Linked DNA regions of Homo sapiens: region 2 is linked to region 1. Evidence: promoter capture Hi-C in human tissues and cell types (Jung and others, 2019). All regions are on one chromosome and are shown on one strand. Each heading gives the region's core, a stretch centred on a gene start or on the middle of the fragment in contact. The rest is flanking DNA. Distances are from core to core; before and after follow the strand shown. Region 1 holds the start of SMIM14 (small integral membrane protein 14). Region 2 overlaps LINC02265 (long intergenic non-protein coding RNA 2265).

Region 1 (2,952 bases), core at 326-2,825:
CAAGGTTGCAGATTAAGGGCCAAAATCTTTATTCTTTGTATCTACTTTGCAATTAGTTAACTGGGAAACACTTCAAGTTTTACCAGAAACCTTTAATTTTCTAGAAACCTTTACCTGTGTTCAATATCCACTTTAATTAAAAAGCTCTTGTAAATGATACTTATTTGGGGAAGGTGATTCAGCTTGTCGAGGGGTAATTAACCAAATTGCTGAGGTGGAAGTCTGGGTAAGTGAAAAGGTCATCAAATCTGAGTAAGAAAGCTTGCAGCTTTCACCTCTCCGTCAAGACTGGCAGAGAGGCACTTTCGTAAAATCTTTGTTTGGGATTCACTTTTACTTCGCCACTTGTCCCATTTTAATTAAAGCTTGCCAACTGAAGGACCTAAGAAAACAATATAGTTCTGCATTTTGCCAAATTGGGAAATTTCCAGGGCCCCCAAAATTTAGCGGGGAGACTCAGAGACTAGAATGGGAGAATAGGAAGCACCAACTTGCTCTAAAAGGAAGATTGGGTAAAAGCAGCACTCTTATTCCAGCTCTACAACCAAAGCAACTAAGACTTGGGCTGGCTGGCTGCCTAGCCACAGCATTCCCTCCTACTTCCCCATTATCTCCTGACCAGCAAGTCATCTTTGGTCACATATCTTTAATTATTTAGTTTGAGACAAAGTCTCACTATCACCCAGGCTGGAGTGCAGTGGCGCGATCTCGGCTCACTGCAACCTCCGCCTCCCGGGTTCAAGCGATTCTTCCACCTCAGCCTCCCGAGTAGCTGGGACTACAAGCGGGCACCACCATGCCCGGCTAATTTTTGTGTTTTTAGTGGAGATGGGGTTTCACCATGTCGGCCAGGCTGGTCTCGGACTCCTGACCTCAAGTGATCCGCCCACCTCTGCCTCCTGAAGTGCTGGGATTACAGGCATGAGTCACCAAGCCCGACTACATATTCCTTTTATTAATATTCCTGTTGAACTTAATTTTGGTCGTTTCCGGTGCAAAAATGTTAAGGTAAAGGGAATCAATAACAGCCACATTTGATGTATTTTTGTAATCCCCATCTCCAATTTCCATCCGGGCCTGAGTAACCAAAAACACTTTACAGGGGTAGACTGTCTCAACAGACATCAATTTGTAACCGCGTCTACCTCTACCACGGTATTCTAAAGACTCCGTCGAGGAAAACCTTTAGCTCGGGCAACGGGAGACACATTACAGAACACTGTCCGCCGCCGAAGAAACAGACGATACGCGGGAGAGTTGAACAGACACCCGGCCTCGCCCCGATTGCTTCACAGTCCTCAGCCACGCCCCTCCCAACCGGAACTACATCCCCCGCACTCCGCGCCCCCACGCACAGCGTGTCGTAGGCGTCCGAAGCCGCAGGCTCCCGCCCGGCTTCCCGGGACGCACAGGGCAGGCGCTGGGCATGCGCATGCTCGGCAGGCGGGGCAGCTGGAGTCTCCAGGCGCTGCAATCTGTTGCGCCGCCGCCCGCGGGAGCCGGCAGATCCGGGTCTTGTGGCTAAGAGTGACGTGGTCACTCGAATCAAAACAGAGGAGGGGGAGGAAGCCGGCGGCCAGAAACGGCAGTGGCAGCAGCGTCCGGAGCAGCCGCAGCCTTCTGGAAGCTCCAGGCGGTCTTTCTGCCGAGCCTCGGTCCCGGCCCCCATCCTCCCCGCCCCATCGGTTGTTGTCTGGGCGGGTGAGTGTCTCCCCCTCTCCCACCAGCGTTTGCTGGCTCACCCTCCCCTCGCCCCAGTTTTTCCTGGGGGCTCCTCAGGCTCTCGGGGACTGCGGCGGCTGCGGCAGAACAGGGCTGTTTCTCGGGCTTGGCGTTTCCTCGGCCGGGCTGGCGATTCTGCACCGGGAGAAGCTCCGCTGCTGCCGAGCCCGCGTCCCCCGCGAAGAGCCTGCAATTGGGTATTCTCTGCAGGATGTCAGAGTCGGGGCTTTGCAGGCAAGGGCAAGGTAGCCACGGGTGGTTTTATTTTTAGGATCAGATTGTCGACGGGTGGAGGCGTATCATGGAGTAAAAAGAGAGTCGTAGCTGGAAGGAAAAACTCACAAATCCTGAAATCCACACTATCTTGTTTACCGTCTCCCTCAGCCCTTTCTGGGTACGGTGAAGTCACTAGGATGCGTCCTTTGTTGTGATAAGTGAGACGAGAAAGCTGACACCCTGAAAGCGAGAGCTTTTTAGCTCCTATTGTGTCGCGAATTTAAAGGATCCCCTTTTTCTGTTTGCTCAGTAAGTGGAACCAAGGCTGACAGTAAAGAGGTAGCAGCACCCTTTATTGGAACTAATAGTGTGTGATAAACTGGTTACCGGCTCTACCCGAAGTCCCGTGTTGCTGTTTAAAGGCAGACTTCACCAAAGTGGCTGTTTATATGTGCCAGGATTTTAGCCGAGATGGTTTGCTAGCTGTAGAGAGTCGGTAGGATGTTTTCAGTTGCCCCAGTTGGCAAAACCGAGGCTGTGGCCTTAATAGAATGTGTTACTTTTGCATCGAGAGAGTCGGATGAGCTTCACACACGTAATAGCTACATTTGCAGAAGAGACCTTCCAGTTTGTGTGTGTTATTGTCAGAAACAGCAGCTGTACATATTATAACTTGGAAAGCGTAAGACCTTCCAGGTGTTGGAGTGTTGGGACGCTTAGGAGGCATTCTTGCTGCCCAGCGCTGTGGAGGTTGCAGGAGGCTTTGCATTCCCTTCCACTTAGGGTGGCTGGCCGCGCAGATTCCTTTAGTGTAGCCTGCTCCGAACTTGCCGCTCTCCGCGGCCGTCGACAGCACTGCGACCAGAAAACCAAACCTTTTTGTCCTAACTTTTTTTTTTTTTCCAACGTGGTGTTTAAGAACACCGCTTCACCCCCGAGAACTCATTAATTGAGGTGTTTCAGTGGTTAACAGCAAGAAAGAACAACAGTACGTGATAGTTAATTGCTCCTTAT
Region 2 (2,862 bases), core at 262-2,761, 680 kb before region 1:
GTTTACCTATTGTCTCCCCGGCCAGACTGAGCATCTCTCAGATGCTCCATTTGTCTTGGTATCCCCAGTATTTGATATACAAGAGGTGTCCAATAAATGCTCATGAAATACATGATTGTAGTGGTGAGAGCCAGGCCTGACAGAGATCTCTTGATTGGCAGTCACCCTCCTCCCATGCCACAATTCCCCAGGCAGTCTTGGCTGGCCTTCCCTGGGCAGTGACGCTTCTGGTGTCCGCGGTGAGAGGATGGTGGCAGCTGAGTGTCTTAACCTTAATGTGCACACACCTGTGCCAAGCATGGCTCCCTAAAGGGCAGCCTTAAGAGCAAGATGAAACAACCTTGGATGTAAATGCGCCTGGCAGAGAAACTAGCCCCACTGTGACCCAGCTTGTCAGAGTGGATCCCCGTTGCGGAACGGATGTGCTGTGTTTGGGAGCTGACAGATTCCAGTCAAAATGGAAGGACCTAAATGAATTTAGATTCCACCTTTGACCTAGCCTGGATGCAGAGGCTCATGCCTGTAATCCCAGCACTTTGGGAGGCCGAGGCAGGCAGATCACTTGAGATCAGGAGTTCGAGACCAGCCTGGCCAACATGGCAAAACCCCACCTCTACTAAAAATATAAAAATTAGCTGGGCGTGGTGGCAGGCGCCTATAATCCCAGATTCTCGGGAAGCTGAGGCAAAAGAATCACTTGAACCCGGGAGGTGGAGGTTGCAGTGAGCCGAGATCGCACCACTGCAGTCCAGCCTGGGCGACAGAGTGAGACTCTGTTTCAAAAAAAAAAAAAAAATTCTACCTTTGACCTAAATCCAGTGTAGTAATAGCCAAGATAAGTAAGATAAGTACAAGCTCAAGAGTTAAGCTTCTGGAGAAAAGAGAACTGTATTTAACTTAACTTAGGTTGTAAGCCCCTCAGCAGAGGGGAGTGGATCACCTTTTTGATGAGAATACATGTTTTAAGATAAATATTAAAACCACTTCCAGCTGGTCATGGTGGCTCACACCTGTAATCCCAGCACTTTGGGAGGCTAAGGTGGGTGGATCACAAGGTCAGGAGTTCGAGACCAGCCTGGCCAAAATGGTGAAACCCCATCTCTACTAAAAATACAAACATCAGCCTGGCATGGTGGTGGGCGCCTGTAGTCCCGGCTACTTGGGAAGCTGAGGCAGGAAAATCGCTTGAACCCGGGATGCAGAAGTTGCAGTGAGCCAAGATCTGGCCACTGCACTCCAGCCTGGGTGACAGAGCGAGACTCTGTCTCAAACAACACAAAACAAAACAAAAAAAATATTTCCTAGTTTCCCAGTAGAAACAGGCACTGAGAGGTGAGTTTTGATCAGAATAGTGCTGCAAAATCCACTCATACTGCAAATATTTACTGAATGCTGGGCAGAGAGTTCACAAGAATTAACTACACATCATCTCATCCTTCAAGGTGATTATGGAATATTTAGAGGAAAAAGACAAATTTCTAAGAAAAGCTGAATAACAATAAAAGTTAAATAAGTAATGCAAGCAAGAAGACTATTTTTTTTTTTTTTTTGAGAGAAGTCTCACTCTTGTTCCCCAGGCTGGAGTTCAATGGCACAGTCTCGGCTCACTGCAACCTCCATCTCCCGGGTTCAAAAGATTCTCCTGCCTCAGCCTCCCAAGTAGCTGGGATTACAGGCGCCTGCCACCAGGTCCGGCTAATTTTTTTGTATTTTTGGTAGAGACGGGGTTTCACCATGTTGGCCAGGCTGGTCTCAAATTCCTGACCTCAGGAGATCCACCTGCCTTGGCCTCCCAAAGTGCTGGGATTACAGGCGTGAGCCACTGCACCTGACTCTTTTTTTTTTTTTTTTTGACAGGGTCTTGCTTTGTCACCCACTGGAGTGCAATGGTGCAATCTCAGGTCATTGCAACCTCTGCCTCCTGGACTCAAGCGATCCTCCCACCTCGGCCTCCAGAGAGCTGGGACCACAGGCACCGCCACCACATCCAGCTACTTTTTTTTTTTATTTTTAGTAGAGACAGGGATTTCACCATGTTGCCCGGGCTAGTCCCGAACTCCTAAGCTCAAGCGATTTGCCCACATCAGCCTCCCACAGTGCTGGGATTATAGGCGTGAGCCACTGCACCCTGCCAACTATTCCTTAAAGGCGTGACTCGCTGCCAAATGAGAGGTCTGAACCAGAAGTTCAGAGAAGGGAAAGAAGGTTGTGCCTCCAGGGTGGACTGATCCATAGGAGGCAGAGACCAAAAACGAGGCTCTCACTTGACGGACTGGACCAGCAAGATGGAGTGCATGGTGGAGGCGTGGGGGTGCATCTTGGTAGAAAAAAAGCCTTTGGGATTTGGGACTGGAGTTTCTGTTCTGTCATTTATTAGTGAGAGATCTCAGGCATTTTTAAAAAATCTTCTTTGCACCTCAGTTTCCTCATGGGTGAAAGGAATAATATTATCTACCCCACTGGGCTCCACATATCATTCAGACCACAAGCATCTGTGGAGTCTACTTATACTAAGCCCTTTTGATAAGCCCTGGAGTACAAGATGAAAAGAGAAGGGCCTGCCCTCAAGAGCTGCCAGAGAAGGAGGGGCAGTCACTGTTGGTCCCTCTCTTCATTTACCTTCCAGGGGTCTGTCTTTTTGTTTGTTTGTTTGTTTGTTTGTTTTGTTTTGTTTTTTGTGTGTGTGAGAGATGGAGTCTCACTCTGTCATCCAGGCTGGAGTGCAGTGGCACGATCTCGGCTCACTGCAAGCTTCGCCTCCTGGATTCAAGCAATTCTACTGCCTCAGCCTCCGGAGTAGCTGGGACTGGAACTACAGGCGCCCGCCACCAAGCCCGGCTAATTTTTTTTTTTTTTTTTTTT

Evidence for each region. Contacts are between HindIII fragments. The study calls those that stand out against the background at their distance.
Region 2: a fragment that was not itself captured here is called in contact with the fragment with the promoter of SMIM14 in region 1 in 2 of the 25 tissues and cell types used here (hippocampus and pancreas).

Annotation. Positions count from the first base shown.
Region 1 is chr4:39,637,488-39,640,439 of GRCh38, reverse strand. It overlaps SMIM14 (small integral membrane protein 14), which reads left to right and starts at 1,575. Exons shown (of 5, transcript NM_174921.3): 1 at 1,575-1,701. SMIM14-DT (SMIM14 divergent transcript) reads right to left here and starts at 1,300. Exons shown (of 6, transcript NR_183845.1): 1 at 1,146-1,300. RefSeq lists an enhancer at 916-1,633. The HindIII fragment of the contact is 11,439 bases long and covers 1-2,952 here.
Region 2 is chr4:40,317,772-40,320,633 of GRCh38, reverse strand. All of the region lies in intron 2 of LINC02265 (long intergenic non-protein coding RNA 2265), which reads right to left. Among named protein-coding and RNA genes, the nearest start is that of LINC02265, 12 kb to the right of the region's middle. The HindIII fragment of the contact is 3,787 bases long and covers 1-2,862 here.